6 separate regions of the Homo sapiens genome follow, and all the other regions are linked to region 6. Evidence: promoter capture Hi-C in 16 types of primary human blood cells and fetal thymus (Javierre and others, 2016). All regions are on one chromosome and are shown on one strand. Each heading gives the region's core, a stretch centred on a gene start or on the middle of the fragment in contact. The rest is flanking DNA. Distances are from core to core; before and after follow the strand shown. Region 1 holds the start of PFKFB2 (6-phosphofructo-2-kinase/fructose-2,6-biphosphatase 2). Region 2 overlaps C4BPA (complement component 4 binding protein alpha). Region 3 has its middle 19 kb from the start of C1orf116. Region 4 overlaps C4BPB (complement component 4 binding protein beta). Region 5 overlaps LOC107985251 (a long non-coding RNA gene). Region 6 holds the start of CR1 (complement C3b/C4b receptor 1 (Knops blood group)).

Evidence for each region. Contacts are between HindIII fragments. The CHiCAGO score rates a contact against its expected background, and 5 or more counts as called.
Region 1: a contact is called between a fragment that was not itself captured here and the fragment with the promoter of CR1 in region 6, in 6 of 17 cell types (total B cells, M0 macrophages, M2 macrophages and 3 more). The highest score is 9.4, in total B cells.
Region 2: a contact is called between a fragment that was not itself captured here and the fragment with the promoter of CR1 in region 6, in 4 of 17 cell types (naive B cells, naive CD4 T cells, total B cells and 1 more). The highest score is 7.6, in naive B cells.
Region 3: a fragment that was not itself captured here is called in contact with the fragment with the promoter of CR1 in region 6 in 5 of 17 cell types (fetal thymus, naive CD8 T cells, total B cells and 2 more); the score reaches 6.3 in fetal thymus.
Region 4: a contact is called between a fragment that was not itself captured here and the fragment with the promoter of CR1 in region 6, in 10 of 17 cell types (M1 macrophages, naive CD4 T cells, monocytes and 7 more). The highest score is 8.3, in M1 macrophages.
Region 5: a contact is called between a fragment that was not itself captured here and the fragment with the promoter of CR1 in region 6, in 3 of 17 cell types (M2 macrophages, total CD4 T cells and total B cells). The highest score is 7.5, in M2 macrophages.

Annotation. Positions count from the first base shown.
Region 1 is chr1:207,052,983-207,055,682 of GRCh38, forward strand. It overlaps PFKFB2 (6-phosphofructo-2-kinase/fructose-2,6-biphosphatase 2), which reads left to right and starts at 293. Exons shown (of 15, transcript NM_006212.2): 1 at 293-384; 2 at 1,719-1,820. The coding sequence starts at 1,736. It also overlaps a transcript of YOD1 not described here. RefSeq lists an enhancer at 1-223. The HindIII fragment of the contact is 2,737 bases long and covers 26-2,700 here.
Region 2 is chr1:207,115,452-207,118,151 of GRCh38, forward strand. It overlaps C4BPA (complement component 4 binding protein alpha), which reads left to right. Exons shown (of 12, transcript NM_000715.4): 4 at 1-64. Among named protein-coding and RNA genes, the nearest start is that of C4BPA, 13 kb to the left of the region's middle. The HindIII fragment of the contact is 250 bases long and covers 1,309-1,558 here.
Region 3 is chr1:207,012,504-207,015,203 of GRCh38, forward strand. No RefSeq gene overlaps it. Among named protein-coding and RNA genes, the nearest start is that of C1orf116, 19 kb to the right of the region's middle. The HindIII fragment of the contact is 2,430 bases long and covers 119-2,548 here.
Region 4 is chr1:207,098,566-207,101,265 of GRCh38, forward strand. It overlaps C4BPB (complement component 4 binding protein beta), which reads left to right. Exons shown (of 7, transcript NM_001017365.3): 7 at 1,224-1,428. The coding sequence ends at 1,364. Among named protein-coding and RNA genes, the nearest start is that of C4BPA, 4.3 kb to the right of the region's middle. The HindIII fragment of the contact is 1,310 bases long and covers 792-2,101 here.
Region 5 is chr1:207,154,491-207,157,190 of GRCh38, forward strand. The region is part of intron 1 of LOC107985251 (a long non-coding RNA gene); the gene reads right to left. Among named protein-coding and RNA genes, the nearest start is that of C4BPA, 52 kb to the left of the region's middle. The HindIII fragment of the contact is 807 bases long and covers 1,026-1,832 here.
Region 6 is chr1:207,494,883-207,497,582 of GRCh38, forward strand. CR1 (complement C3b/C4b receptor 1 (Knops blood group)) reads left to right here and starts at 1,275. Exons shown (of 47, transcript NM_000651.6): 1 at 1,275-1,506. The coding sequence starts at 1,386. The HindIII fragment of the contact is 13,119 bases long and covers 1-2,700 here.

The DNA of each region.
Region 1 (2,700 bases), core at 144-2,643, 440 kb before region 6:
TCTCGCGAGAGTCAGAAAAAAGTCAAGCTTTTTATTAACACCGCCCCCAGCCCTATTAGTTACCAAGCAACAGTGCCACCAGGCTCCTCGGCGCTGGGAAACTCAGGAGCTTGTGATCTCTCTGGTTCCGACTTCCAGCCGCCTTCCCGAGCCAGTTAGGCGATTGCGACCCTGCCCCGCCCCCTGGGTCCTGCAGGCGCCCGATTGGTGGATGATTCTCTCCAGGTGAGGACCTACGCGCGAGGGGGCGGGGCCAGACGGGCTCACATGATTTGCCGGCGACTGTAGCGCCGGTCCCGGCCACAAGCTGTCGGCTCGGTTCGGTCGCGTTACAGGGCAGGCGCCGGGGCCAAGGCAGGGAGGGATCTTAGGAGAGATCGTAGGGTGAGCCACAGCTGCGCAGCCCCGGGTAGGGTCTAGCGGGGCGGGATGTGGGGGCTGCGTGCCCCCGGATGAAGTGCGGGGAGAGGTGCTGGTCCCCAGGCATGGCAGGCAGCGCGGACGTTCTGGGACCGGGAGCCACAGTCTGTGTTTGGGTTGGAGGATTTGTGTGGTCAGTAAAGGAATCGTGTAAGGCTCTTGAAGGCGCAGGATCTTCCGTCCTCACCAGCCCCCTGTTGTCTGAATTGGGGGCATGAGCTCAGGACTTTCCCACTCCAGTTTGAATCAGGGCTTACCCCTCTTCCTGAGGTGACCTTGGGGAAGTCATTTACCACCTCAGCGCTCCGGCGTTCTTTAGACTGAGTCCCGGGGGTAACTAGGGAGAGGGTGCGGAGCAGGGCTTGAGAATGCACTAGAGGAGAAATGACGACGTGCTAGGGCTGTCTTGGGGTCCAGTTACTGTTTTTCCTTCAGGGAATATGTTCGAGATTTTCCCACGTCCCTCACTTTTTTCTTTTCTTTCTTTCTTTTTCATTTTTCATTTTTTTTTTTTTTTTTTTTGACAGAGTCTCGCTCTGTCGCTAGGCTGGAGTGCAGTGGCGGGATCTTGGCTCACTGCAACCTCCGCCTCCCGGGTTCAAGCGATTCTCCTGCCTCAGCCTCCCGAGTAGCTGGGACTACAGGCGCGCACCACCAGGCCCGGCTAATTTTTGTATTTTTAGTAGAGACGAGGTTTCACCATGTTGGCCAGGATGGTCTCTATCTCTTGACCTCTTGATCCGCCCGCCTCAGCCTCCCCAAGTGTTGGAATTCCAGGAGTGAGCCACCGTGCCCGGCCTCACTGTTTGCAAAACTGAGTCCTACCGTTAGATTGGAGTTAATTTCCTGGTAATGTACTTCGTCTATACATAACCCACCCCACCCCAACTGCTGCCACTACTCTGCCCAGATTCTTAAAACTAGAATCTGAGGTCATGAAACCTTGAGCAGGACACTTAATTCGATGAATCTCAAATTTTCAATCTGTAAAATGAGAAGAAATAATGGTGGCAAAATCTGCCTAATTACAAGATTATTGTTAGGACTGAAGAAGATAACGTCTGTAAATGTAGACTCGTAAGTCAGAAGATAAATGTAAGGTTCTAGTGCAACTCTTTTTATAGGTGAGGAAACAGAGGGCTAGAGAAGTAGCTGCTAACTGGGAGAAACAGGACTGAACCTGCCTCTTGGCCCAGGGTGTTTTTACTTATACCACACGGATCCAATGCACTGACTTTTTTTAAGTTATGTCTTCTTTCTTCCCCTTCCCTTTTTTACATTCTACTTCTCTGTTTCAGACATCTGAAGAGCTGCCATGTCTGGGGCATCTTCCTCAGAACAGAACAACAACAGCTATGAAACCAAAACCCCAAATCTTCGAATGTCAGAGAAGAAATGTTGTGAGTTCTGGCAGAGAGGAGGGACTGCTCTCTCTCAGCATTTTATCTTGGGAATATAGTTATAATCCTGGACTCTGCTGCTTGGTGGGAGTGATAAATAATTATTTGACATGGAAATTTAATGCAAAGTCTCCAGGGTAGAATGTCCTGTCTAAAACAAGTAGACTTAGTGAAATGTCTGTTCTTGGGGCTTGACTACTGGTGTAGTCCAGCAGTTTCTTACTGCTTTCTTAAACTGAATCTCTGTCTCCTGGGATGTTTGCACACTGGCTTGCTGATGGAAGTTAGAACTAACATTATTGTACACACAATGAGTAAGGCACAGTTGCAGGTGCAGGAATTACTTGGAGCTGGTAATGTTACCAGCTTTATCTGTTGGGCTAAGTTTTGGGAGAGTGCTGCTCATTGTAGAAATTGCAGATGGGAGCCAGTGCTGCTTGGTTTCCTTCCTACAGGCCTGAGGGGAATGAGCCCTGACACTTGGCTTCTCACAGTGTCTTGGGCATCTTACTTTCTCACAGGTTTAGCCTTTGTACTTTGTAAACTATTTTCCCTATAGGTTCATTTTTTTGAGGACAGCTTTCACATGAGCATTTTCATTTCTATGCCTGTCTTTTAGATAGAAACAGCAGGAGGGTTTGCGAGGAGATGAAGCATCATTTCCTGTCCCCAAGCATCTGTATTTCTAAGCATCATAGGCTGCATAGCTTCCCAAAAGATCTGGGACTCTGTTCCCCACATATTTTGGGGAACTTCAAGGAATGCTAACTCTTGCCTCTGCTTCTGGATGGCACCATTCCTGCAGAATCCTGTCAGTCAGTTCTTCTCACTTCAGTGGTTATATATATATATATATATATAGCCAGTTAGTCAAGGAATA
Region 2 (2,700 bases), core at 184-2,683, 380 kb before region 6:
GGCAAGTAGAGATTAAGACAGATTTATCTTTTGGATCACAAATAGAATTCAGCTGTTCAGAAGGGTGAGTGTGAGGTAATCTATGAACAATTCTTTTATATTTATTTAAAAAATAGCTGAAGTGTTCGTATATTTCAAAATTTAAAATGATGTAAAAAGATAGACGTTGAGAATTCTCATTTCCATCCTATCTCCATACACCACATTCCTTCCCGTCCTCAAGCAAAGATCTATTTTTATTGGTTCGTATATATCTTTCTAGTGTTTCCTTATATAAATACAAGCTAAGAAGTTAGCATATATTCTTATTTTCCCCCCTTTCCTCTAATGAACCTAGTATTGAATCTTGCTTTATTGTTTACTTATCAATGTATACTGGAGATATTTCCATGTTTGCGCATAGAGAGTTTCCTCATTAATTTCTTTTTACAACTGCATAGAATGTTGTTGTGTAGTTGTGTCATGGCTTTGCCGTCCTTGTGATGGATCCATGGATGTTTCTAATCTTTTGCTATTCTGAACAATGCTCTGAAGTATTCTCTTGTATGTGTGTCATTTTATACATATGTAGTTACATCTGCAGGATAGCTTCCTAGAGGAGGCCTTTCTGGCTCAAAGAGTATGTATATTTGAAAATTTGAAAGATATTGTCAGACTGCTTTCCCTAAGGGTTTCATGGTTTTGCAGAGTATGTAAATGTCTGTCTCTCCACAAACTCTCCAACTGTGTTGTCAAACTTTCGAAAACTTGTCAAATTTTTGAATTTTTCCCAATGTAAGAGGTGAAAATAAAATCTCACTATAGTTTCACTGTACATTTCTCTTATTGTCAGGGAGGTTAAGTATAGTTTTATATGTCCAGGGGATGTTTGTATTTATTTGTGCACTAGTTAGCATGTCTGATGCCTGGTTGTTGTTTTTTTTCCTTAACTTGTTGAACTTTTTATTCTTAAGTTTTAGGATGTATACATTTAGACATACACATGAGTCTGTGCATTGCAGGATTTAGGCCTTGATTCTGATATATACTGTAACTTTTCCCACAGTGTGTGTGTGTGTGTGTATATGTGTGTGTGTGTGTGTGTGTGTGTGTGTGTGTGTGTGTGTGTATAATGTTTTTGACTTGGCTATTGGTATTTTTTCCCCTTAAGGAGAAATTATTTGTATTTATGTTGTTAAATTCATCAATTTCCCTTTTAGAAATGGCTTTTGGATTTTATGTCCTAAGGCCTTCCCCAATATAAGGTTTAAAAAAAATCGCCTATATTTCCTCTACTTCTTTTATATTTTCATATTTTTTAATATTCAAAGCTTTAATTTATTTGGAGTTAATATACAGTATACAGTATGAGGTACAGATTTTAGACTATATCTTTTCATATTGCTTTCCTGTTACGCCAACACCACTTATTTAAAAGTTTGCCTTTACTGATTTAAGATGCTCTTTGATATTATATAAAATTCATATACTTATCTAGGTCTATTTCTGGACTTTCTATTCAATGCCCGTATTTTTCCTGTACATTTATGTATGCGTTTCACAGTCATTTAATAATTGAAGCTTTATAATATGTTTTAATAGCCAATATGGGTAGAGCTATCTTATTGCTCTTCTTTTTTGAAGTTTTCCTGACAGTATGTATTTATTTTTCTATAAGAACTTTAAAGTTAGACATATTTTAAAATCAGTGTTAGATTAGTTTTAAAATTAATTTTAGGTGAAGTGCAGTGGCTCACACCTGTAATCCCAGCACTTTGGAAGACCAAGGTGGGAAGATCTCTTGAGTCCAGGAGTTCGAGACCAGCCCGGGCAACACAGGGAGACCTTGTCTCTACAAGAAATTAAAAACATTAGCCGAGTGTGGTAGCACGCACTTCTAGTCCCAGCTATGCAACAGGCTGAGGTGGCAGGATCACTTGAGCCTGGGAGGTCGAGGCTGCAGTGAGCCATGATAGTGCCACTGCACTACAACCTGGGTGACAGGGCAAGACCTCATCTCGAAAAATAAACTGGTAAAATTAACTTTAGGAGAATAGATATTTTATAATGTTGACTCTCTCTAGTTAAGAATATGTTACCGTAGAGAAGGCAAAACTATTCCTCTACCCTCTTAGGGTCTCCACCAGGCCTGAGAATTAAGTTGACATGAAACAGATTAACAGGAGAAAAGCACACAGGTTTTATTTTAACAAGTACATAGGAAACTTCACAGGAAAATGAAGACCCAAAAAGTGGTCTTTGTACAAAGTTTCTTTGTACAGATTTCTCTTGGCCTTGACTCCCTGCCTCTGGTGATAAGAGTGTTCTTTTCCTTCAGGTACAGGGAAGGTATCTTTCCTGTGAGAGTTTCATGTCCTGCCTTCAGGAAGAAAAGGGGAGGTCAGAGTGCCCTTCCTGCATCTTGCTGTGTTTCAAGTGCTTTTAACTCAAAAAACAATCTTTATGCCAAACTGGTCTATTTTGGCATATTCTGCTACCCTTTGCTATGCTTTCCTCAGTTCGTCTTAGTCTTTTTTTCCTTGTTTCTTCATGTGTGTTTCAGCTTTCCTCACATAGATTTTGCATTTCTTGAAGAGTTTAAACCTCTGGCAAAACCAAACAAAAAATGTTTTTGGTATTTTAAATGGATTATTTATCCAATTTGTATTGTAACTAGTTTATCTATCATCTATCTATCATCTATCTGTCTGTCTGTCTGTC
Region 3 (2,700 bases), core at 84-2,583, 480 kb before region 6:
AGAAAATCTGAAATTTAATCTAAAACGTAAAGGATGAGAAGGAACTAGCTACGTAAAGACGAGGAGAAAAGAACTCCAGGAGAAGGAACAGCCAAGGTAGAGTCCCAGAGCTGGGACAAGCTTGATGCATTTAAAGGAGAACATGAAGACAGATCTGAGAAGGGGGCACAGGAGAGAGCCCTGAGGCCCAAGAGGATGAGAAGGCAAAAGATCCTGAGGAGGAGTACACAGTACCCAGGAGTCAGTGTTTCAAAATGAAGGGAGTCGTCAATTGTGTCAAATGTGCAGAGAAATAAAGTAAATGCGAGTAAAGCAGACTACTGGATCTGCCAACATGGATGTCATTGGTAACTCTGACAACATGGTCTTGGGGGCATGGAGGGGAAAGATGCTTGGTTGAAGCGGGAGGAGGAGTGAGGTTCAGGTGAGAAAGGAGAGGTTGTGTTTATTTCAAGGGACATTTCCAGAGGGGAGCAGAGAGATGGCTAGGGTGCTAGAGCAGTGCTGTCCAACACCAGAGCCACTTGCCTAATTAAAAAATGTAAGTTTATGTTAATTAAAATTAAATAAAATTAGACATTTAGTTCTTTGTCACACTAGCCAAATATCAAGTGCTTGAGGGCCACATGTGAGGAGCAGCTACTCAATTGGGCAGAGCAGATAGAGCATAGTTTTATCATTGCTGAAATTTCTGATGGACAACTCTGCTCTAGAAGATGTGGGGTTAAGGAAGGTTTTAATTTTGTTGTTGTTGTTGTTAATTTTTTAATTTGAGAGATACTAGACAGAACAGTGATCAAGTAGAAATTGGGGGTGCAGTTTTCTCATTGGACTTCTCTTTATTTACCTCCCTTTAGATGTCAGTGTGCCCCAGAGATCCATCCATGAGCTCTGTTCTTCTTATTCTACCCATCCTCCCTAGACAGCCTTATCCATGCTCATGATCGACTGTCACCTACATTTAGTGGCTCTGTTATCGCTTCTCCCCCATGAACTGCAGACCCGCAGTCTACCTGCCAGGGGCCATGTCAACTTAGAAGTCCCACAGCAACCTCAAACTCCGTATGCCCCAAACCAAACCTCCCTTCTTCCTGGTCCTACCCCTATAGCACATTCATGAATTCTGTCTACTTGTTCAGACCAGCAATGTGGGCATCATTTTGAGCTCCTCTTTCTCCTTTAGTCTTTACATCCAGTCAGTCACTAAGCTGCTGGTTGGTTTGTGGGCACATTTAGAATTGTGCACCACCTCCATCTTCACTGATTTATTTAAATTCTCACTTGGACTGTTGGGAGCATTGTGGATTAGCTAGCAGAAGACTCACATCCACCCCCTTCTCCCAGGCTGGCCTCTATTAGAGAGGACAAGACAGGCTTTCTTACAGCCAGAGATGGCTTGTGACGTAATTCTGGTCAATGAGACAGAAAAGAAAGTCTGTTCAGAAGTTTCTGGGAAAGACTTTGCTTTCTTATTTAAAAAGACAGATATGGATGCTCCCAGTATTTTTTCCCTTCTTAATCCTTTGAATGCCAGCAATATGACTGGAGCCACCATCTCGCAATTGCAGAAGGAAGGCAAAGAGAATTCCTGTGCCTCTGCCCTGAACAATGCCCATAGCCACCTACCCTCATATTTCCCAGTATGGGAGAAAAAGATAAATCCCCTTTTATTTAAGCCACAGAGGGTTCTGTTACTTGCAGCCAAAAGCATCTTTGACTGATAAAGGCTTCTAGCTCGTTTCTTTGTTGTAGTATCATTGCAGTATGTTCCATTATCCACAGCCTTGGCCAGAGCCTTTACAAAATGCAATTTTGACCTTGCTACTTCCCTGCTTTAAATCTCCCATTGACTCTCCACTGCTCACAGGATAGAGATCAGACTGTTTTGCATGGCACATAGGCCCTCCACAGTCTCCTGTTGCCTGCTCCTCTGGCCTCATCCCTGGGCACTGTACATCACAGACAGTTCTCCAGATACACCACACTTCTTTGTGCTTTCTTGGCACATGCTGTTTCCTCTGTCTGGAACACCTCTTCTTTCCAGGTCTTTCCCCTCCTCTCTTAGATCCCTACCCTCTATGGTTCTATATCTTTATATCTTGAATATAATCATACCTTATTGTCTCTCTTGCTAGACTATGAGCTCCTTCATTTTCTGGGTATGTCTTATTTATCTTTGTTTTCCTAATATTGGATAGAGGGTTTGAACTCAGGAAACTGAGAAACGAATGAGTGTGCTGAACCAGGGGCCGTGATTCTGTCTCTAGTTTTACTTATTGTAACCCCATGAGCTCTCTGAAACTCATGTTCCTCATGTGTAAAACATGGGTAATTCTATCTTTGTTGTTTGCGGTGTCAGTGAAATTGTTTTTATATGGCAGATTTGTAATAGCAAAACAGCACTGGCCTTGCTGAGAGGTCAACCCAAGTTCAAATCCATGACTCCAATAATTACTAACTTATGAACTTGGGCAAGTTGAGTAAACTGTCTGTGTCTTGGTTCCCTAATTGACAGAGAGTTAGATAGAAATGTGTGGGGCTGTTATGAAGCTTACTTGAGATACTGAACATGAGAATTCTTGGTTCTAAGAGGGACTCAATAAATGTTTAGTTGAAGTGGACATGAAAAGAGGGGATCTTCAGTCTTGATAAGATCCTACTTGGGATGCCCAGTTCCTGGACAAGAGCTGTGGTCCCCAT
Region 4 (2,700 bases), core at 197-2,696, 400 kb before region 6:
TATCATGGAAGATGACTTTTCCACGGATGGGGGTGGGGAGAGTGGGGATGGTTTGGGGATGATTCAGATGCATTACATTTATTGTGTACTTTATTTCTATTATTATTACATTGTAATATATAATAAAATGATTATATAACTCACCATAATGTAGAATCAGTGGGAGCCCTGAGCTTGTTTTCCTGCAACTAGAGGGTCCCATCTAGTTAGGAGTGATGGGAAACTGACAGATTATCAGGCATTAGATTCTCATCTGGGAGTGTTGGGAAACAGTGACAGATCATCAGGCATTAGATTCTCATCTGGGAGTGATGAGAGACAGTGACAGATCATCACACATTAGAATCTCATCTGGGAATGATGAGAGACAGTGACAGATCATCAGGCATTAGAATCTCATCTGGGAGTGATGGGAGACAGTGACAGATCATCAGGCATTAGATTCTCATCTGGGAGTGATGGGAGACAGTGACAGATCATCAGGCATTAGATTCTCATCTGGGAGTGATGGGAGACAGTGACAGATCATCAGGCATTAGATTCTCATCTGGGAGTGATGGGAGACAGTGACAGATCATCAGGCACTAGATTCTCATCTGGGAGTGATGGGAGACAGTGACAGGTTACCAGGCATTAGACTCTCATAAAGAGGGGTCAACCTAGATCCCTCGCATGAGCAGTTCACAATAGGTTTCACGCTCTTATGAGAATCTAATGCCACCTCTGACCTGACAGGAGGTGGAGCTCAGGCAGCAATGTGAGCAAAGCAGAGTGGCTATAAATACAGCTGAAGCTTTGCTTGCCTGCCCGCTGCTCACTTTCTGCTGTGTGGCCCAGTTCCTAATAGTCCGTGGACCGGTACCGGTCTGTGGCCCTGGGGTTGGGGATCCCTGTTATAGAGCAAAGCACATAAGCACAATGCGTGAGAATTGGAAAAGTCTCTAAAATTCTTCTAGGCTCCAAAACTAAACAAACAACACTGAACAGATCCATTTTCATTGAGATTCTTCTTTTAGTTCATATTTATTACTGGGATAATATTAATAAGTATATTTAAGCCAGAAAATATAAATGATTTGCCATGTTGAAAACCCAAATCTTTACTTAAGCTAGCCTGGTTCTGAGCCCCCATTCAGAGAGCTAACTGCTGCTCACTGGCTTCAGAGTATATAGCTGGGTCTCAGTCCTTATGTTGTAACTTGTGAAAAATTTTCTTTCTTCAGCTTGCCTTTCAGGAGAGTAAGAACCTCTGCGAAGCCATGGAGAACTTTATGCAACAATTAAAGGAAAGTGGCATGACAATGGAGGAGCTAAAATATTCTCTGGAGCTGAAGAAAGCTGAGTTGAAGGCAAAATTGTTGTAACACTACAGCTGAGCAGATGTAATAGAAATAAACCTATGAATAAATTTTCTTCTTGGTTCTGAAATTGGTTTCAGATTTACCTCTTATTGGGCTGAAATTGCCAACAGCAGTTGTATAATGCACCATGTGTGTGTGTGTGTGTGTGTGTGTGTGTGTGTGTGTGTATGTGTGTGTGTGTGTGTGTGTGTGTTGTTCTCAGAATGTGAAAAGGCCAAATGTAGTGGTTGTCTAAGGCCAGAATTAGCAACATATTATTGGAGAATAGAGGGCTTAATTTCCAGTCTGTAAGGAGAATGGAAAACTCTGATCTCAGCCGAGAGAGTAACTCGTATTTTAACATGAGACCATGAATTATGAAACCAAAACTAACCGCAACTTATGAGGCAAAAATTAACCTTCCATTTTGGAAAAGATGCTTAGAATAGTTACATCCTTAAAAATGACCCACTGGGACAGAAGGAGAGCTAGGACCCAAATTCTCCTCCCAGTCTTGCCCACATCTGGCTTACGGAAACAGGTTTCCAAAGCTGCAGGAAAATTGCTTACTGCCTCTTGAATGAAACCTGGTCCTGCATGATAAATTAGAGATGGTGCAACACAAGTGAATATATTTCTTCTCTTTTTTAGAAACAAAAATTTTATATTATTTTTTACTTACAATTCTCCTTTTTTAGAGGGTAGAAGAAATAAGAATCCTAAGGCTTTCAATCAAAATGTCATACTGAGCTGGCATGACAAGCTTCTCCCACCTCTCGTCCTGACTGCTACCTGAAACACGTAGGATATCTAGATAAAGTGCAACCAAAATATATAAGCCAGCTTGAAATAATGGAAAATCGCTAGGTAAAGTTATGAAGGGGAATAAGAGATGGACTCTTGAGTACCCCAGAGTCTACTAATAGGCACAAGACATGTACACACGTAGCATTATTTTAGAGTGGTTAGAATGAACTAAACATTTTCAGACAACAGTGGGCTATGAGAGCTCAGATGAGAGGAGGTTCACTTCTGTCTGGGAGGAGGAGGCAGGAATATTGTCAAGGAAGAAGTCACAGTTATTTGGGCCTTCAAAAGTAAGTGAGAATTAGAGACAAAGATTAAAGAGCTCATTCCAGTTGGAAAGAATATTTGAGAAATGGAGTAAGACAATAATAAGATTTAAAACCAATTTTTTTTTTTGAGATGGAGTTTCGCTCTTGTTGCCCAGGCTAGAGTGCAATGGCGTGATCTCAGCTCACCACAACCTCTGCCTCCTGGGTTCAAGCGATTCTCCTGCCTCTGCCTCCTGAGTAGCTGGGATTACAGGCATGCGCCACCATGCCCGGCTAATTTTGTA
Region 5 (2,700 bases), core at 179-2,678, 340 kb before region 6:
ACCAAATAGCGTTTTGTGAGTATGTTTCATTGCTTTTGTTTTAATACGTTGTCTATAATGTCCTTTTCCAGTAATGTTTGTTTGCTTGCTTGTTTTGTTTTCTATATTTCTATTTACATTTCCTCCTAAATGCACCAAGAGATTTTTCAGTCTACCAAATCTATTCCAAATGTTGAGATATCATATGCTTTATCAATTCCTTTCTTATTCTTGTGTGTCTTTCTCCCAAAGTCCTAGAAACAGACCTTGAAACAAGAATTAAAATGTAGGTAATTTGTTTAGGAGGTGCAGGAAACACCAGGAGAGAAAGGCAGTGAGATATGGAAGGAAAGTCAACCAAAAAGGATATGTTAGCAAGCTAGTTAGGATGACCACAGCCTCATCCCAAGGGACACTGATAAAGATGGTGAACTCGCACCTCAGAGTAATCATAGCTAAGGGTAGGGAGCTGGGATATTTATACATACTTCCATCAGTTGTTAATTGAGATCTGCTTCTGCAAGGTGTTATCTTCAGTTTATCCTGCTAATTGCAAATCAGAGTAGCCTTCGATGGTTGTGGAAAAAGCCTGGGTAAAAGGAAACAGATATAGGCAGTTGGAAGTTGTTTAGAGTGTGCTAAAGTGGCAGGGCGCTGGTGATACTGACAGGACATTGACAGGGGCTGCTACACACTACAACAAGCAATGGATGTTCTCATATCTGTAGACTCGCCTTCCTGCCCTGTCTTTACTTTGTTGACTCATGTTCTCTTTCTTATTTCCTCATTTTATTGGAGCACATCCTCCAGGAACTTCCTAAGAAATGATGTATAGGAAGTAAGCTATTGAGTGAACTCCTATATTCTTGAAACTGTCATTATTTTCACACTTGATTGATAGTTTGGCTGGGTGTAGTAGGGTGGGTAAAGTGTAATTTTTCCTCTCATTTTAAAGGAATTTGTCTACTGTTTTAATATATTCCATACAGCTATTGAGAAGTCAAAAGACATCCTGATTTCTGACCTGACTTTTCCTCAACGCTGGAAGCTTTTAGGATACAATCTTTACTCATGGTGTTCTAAAATATCATGTTGGTATACTTTACTGTATGATTTATTTTTATTTATTATGCTAATTCTTGATGGGCTCTTTCACACTATAAACTCATGTTCTTATTATTCTGAGAAATTTTCTTAGAAAATGTTTTCAGTAACATTTCTTCACTGTTTTCTCTTTTCATGGAAACCAAAATCATTTGATATTGGACCTCCTTGTTAATTATTGGATTTAGTTATGTTTTCTGCCCTCATTCTTACCTTCAATTCTCCAAACATTTTTTTGGAGATTTCCTTGACTTCATTTTTTTTCTGAATTTTTCAATTTCTTTTAAGAACACTTGCTAACATTTTTCAAAGAATTTTTAAAAATTGTTTTCTGTTTTTAAAAAAATAGTAATCCTGTTCTTTCCACCTAGATTCATTATTGTCTCTATGGAGCTATTTTGCAATAGAGAAGTATGATTTTGCTCCCTGCAAACCTCTGTTAATGATCATTGGTCAGCAGTTGTTCTTTAAGAGTAAGGCCTAAATAATCTCATTTAAAGTTCTGTGTATGTGAACAAATTTTGCTGGCAGCAGGCTTACTTGCAGCCTGATGGGACAGTGAGGCATTTTAAATTAACTTGTGGCTATAACAGAGAGTGTTAATTGTTTCCCTGTATTAACCTCTATTTTCACTTTAAGTAATAGAACCACTTCTACCATTTCAGCAGGGCACAGTGTTGCTCAACTAGTCCCTCCCTTGGAGCAACCTCCCAATAAATGCAACATGCTTGTCACCTTCTTAAAAAGGAAGCTTCTTGCTCTCCTCTTCCTCTTCCATACTCTTGAGGGCTGAAATGCTGATAGGGTGCCTGAGAGCCAGCTTCTGCCTTTTTGAGAAGGACAGCATCCTAGGGGATATTAAAGCAACAAGGAGAAAAGGCCCTAGTCCCTAGTTGACCATGTTGAGCAGTACTGCCTTCCATCCTGACTGGGTTTTTGCCTCCGAACTGTTTTTGAAAGAAAAATAAAGTTCTACCTGCTCTGAGCCATTGAGTTTTTGGTTGTCCTATCTCATGACAAGTATAGGACAATGAATATCCAAATACTGATGTTTATAGGTGTCTTCTTTGTTGCTGTCCAGTTGCTCCAGAGAAGGAACTTCTGTGGTTTTTTTTGCCTGTTTACAACTTGAGTTTACAACTTAAATTTCTCCTGTGCAAGATGAGGCAATTACTGCTTCTGTACTTTTTAAAATTCTGTTTCCCCCTCTATTCCTCAGTCTATTTCCATCACCACATTACTTTTGCACTATCAACATCGAGAGAACTTTCTTTCCTGAAATGATTGCTCCTATCCCTAAAAGACACAGCAGTTGCGTTTGTCTCCTTGCTTTAAGTTAAATGTTTTTCTTTACACTATGACTAACTAGTTCATATATTTCCTTCAGAAGTTCACCCACAGTGGTGCTGAATAATTACACCAGGAGTAAAAAATGTATAGGTTATTTGGAATGTGAATCTGGTGCTAAAGTTTAGTTGAGCCTGAGAAAAGTCAACTACGAAACCCCTGCTGCCAAATATTCTTCTTTGACCACAAGAAAATAAATTAAAACGAAGTGAATTCTTTCTATGTCAGGTTTAATAATTGTGGGGAGAAAGCAATTGGAAAGCTAGAGGC
Region 6 (2,700 bases), core at 25-2,524:
ATCCATACTTCTTATTTCAGTAAGTAGCACCACCATTCATTTCTAATCCTGGGGCTAACTCTTTTTTTTTTTTCTTTTCTGAATCATGTCTCCTTTTAATGGTTAAGGAAAACAAGTTTAACATAAAATTAGCAACAACAACAACAACAACAACAAAATCAAGGTTTAAAGTCAAAATTATTTTAAGAGAAAAACCCAGGCAAAATAGCCTACCTACAGGCAGGCAGTACATGTCAGAAGGACAGGCCACCCCCAATAAAAAAGATAAAATATTATTTTTTCTACCTTTTTTAAACTTAATTATTTAATTATTTCTTTCTTTTTTCTTTTTTTTGTTTCTTTTTTTTATTATACTTTAAGTTTTAGGGTACATGTGCACAACGTGCAGGTTTGTTACATATGCATACATGTGCGACGTTGGTGTGCTGCACCCATTAACTCGTCCTTTACATTAGGTATATCTCCTAATGCTATCCCTCCCCCCTCCCCCCACCCCACAACAGGCCCCGGTGTGTGATGTTCCTCTTCCTGTGTCCATGTGTTCTCATTGTGGAAGCTGGAAACCATCATTCTCAGCAAACTACCGCAAGGGGGCTAACTCTTGATTGCTTTCTTCTCACCACCAACCTTAAGAAAGGAAGTAACCAAAATCCAATACATGAGCAACTGTTCATTCCATCTCCAATATCTTTGTTAATTGTCCACTTTATCCACCCAGTCAGGGCCGCCATCAAACCTCACTTGGATGTCGGCAAAAGCTCCCCTGACTGGTCTTCGCAGTCCATTATTGCCCTATTCTAATCTACCTTCCATACTATACACAGATTTACATTTTTTAAATGTGTATCTAATTGTCCCTCCCTTTTAAAAAATCTTACAATGGCATGACGTCTCAATTCAGGGTAAGGAAATTGTTTCTTCACATTCCCTGTACACCGTACACATCGCCTGCAATTGCCCTTCAACACGGAGAGCAGGCATTTCATTAGCTGACCTTCCCACACACATTCTTGCAAAGAGGAAAAGTTAAGCAGGGTGTTTGGAGGCGAGCTGCCATCATCCACCGCCTTTGTCTGGAAGCGCAGGGCCTCACACGCGGGATCCATCGGAAGCCCGAGCATTGTCAAGCTCTGCTGCTGCACCTGGGTCAGCAAGGTGGGCTCTGCCAGCGAAACTCGTTAGAAACAATGCAAATGGGGAGTAAACATGACCTCGCCCATGAAGGGGAAGCTGTGGTCAAAAGCATTTTGTCCCGGAACCCCGCAGCCCTCCCCACACTCTGGGCGCGGAGCACAATGATTGGTCACTCCTATTTTCGCTGAGCTTTTCCTCTTATTTCAGTTTTCTTCGAGATCAAATCTGGTTTGTAGATGTGCTTGGGGAGAATGGGGGCCTCTTCTCCAAGAAGCCCGGAGCCTGTCGGGCCGCCGGCGCCCGGTCTCCCCTTCTGCTGCGGAGGATCCCTGCTGGCGGTTGTGGTGCTGCTTGCGCTGCCGGTGGCCTGGGGTGAGAGGCGGGCGGGCGTGGGGAGGCGCCCGGGCGGACGAGGAACCCGGGGCCCCGCAGAGAACTCGCGTGCAGCGCTGAGCTGCGCTGCTCTGCGCGCCCGGGTCCGAAGGCAGCGCGATGGGTGGGCTGAGCGCGCGACCCGGCAGGGCGGCGGGTGTAGGATCCTTCTGCGCACTGGAGACCCTCGCTGCTTCTGGGTAAGCGTGGAGTTCCCAGGTGCAGGGGCTTAAGTCGTGACGAGCGCAGTGGAAGGCGCAGATGCTGAGCGGGTGCCGCACGAAATTCCTTGCCTTTGTGTATTCACAGCCTCGGCTGGCTATAGCCAAGACGTGGCGTTGATCCTAGTGAAAGGGAACTTGGGGATCCGACAAACCTGAGTTCTGGTCCTAGAAACTTAACTGTGAGGCAACTTAGCACACCTGAGTCTGTTTGCTCTTCTGTAAAATGGGGACACTGGTATCTCTGCATCGTGGAGTTGCTGCCTCAGTGGCATTAAGCCTGTCGAGTATCTAACACAGGGCTATGTGTCCCCGAGTCCATTTCTATCCCCCAACCGTTACCTCTGTACTTTGCTCCCAATGGTGTTTAGACAAGCAGTCCTAGGGATGCAGGTGTTACCTGACAACTGCCCCGCATGGAACTGTCCTCGCCCCCCACACCAAGCCACCACGGCCATCATCACCATGCACTTAATTGACAGCATACTTTAAGACAGATGCATGCCAGGCACTTGCGGATTAGAAGAGCAAGGGAAGCCCCAGAACATGCAATGTAACCGTTGCAGGTAGAAGGGACAGTAGATATGTTTACAGTTCGCATTTTAGTGATGTGTTTAGTACAAAATAACGCCTATTATAATTATTATGGAAATTTTGAGGCCACATCTCTTCCTTTTTCTTAACTTCAAATAGGTAAACATCTTCAGTTAGAACCCTTCTATTATTATTTTTCGGCTCCCCAGAAGTCTTCTTGGTTGCCTAGACTCACTGGCAACATCTCATTTGAAGTGACAGTCTTGGTTGTTTTTGTCCAGCCTATTCCTGACAACTCCGGGTTCGCCCTTCTCTGCCACTAGACATTTTACATTCATTATTTGAGTGTTCCTTCTTCTCTAAAAGAGTAAATAAAATAAAATAAAGTAGAACCAAGTCCCGCAAGAGTTGTTATTAATATTTGATCTCCTTAGGCACC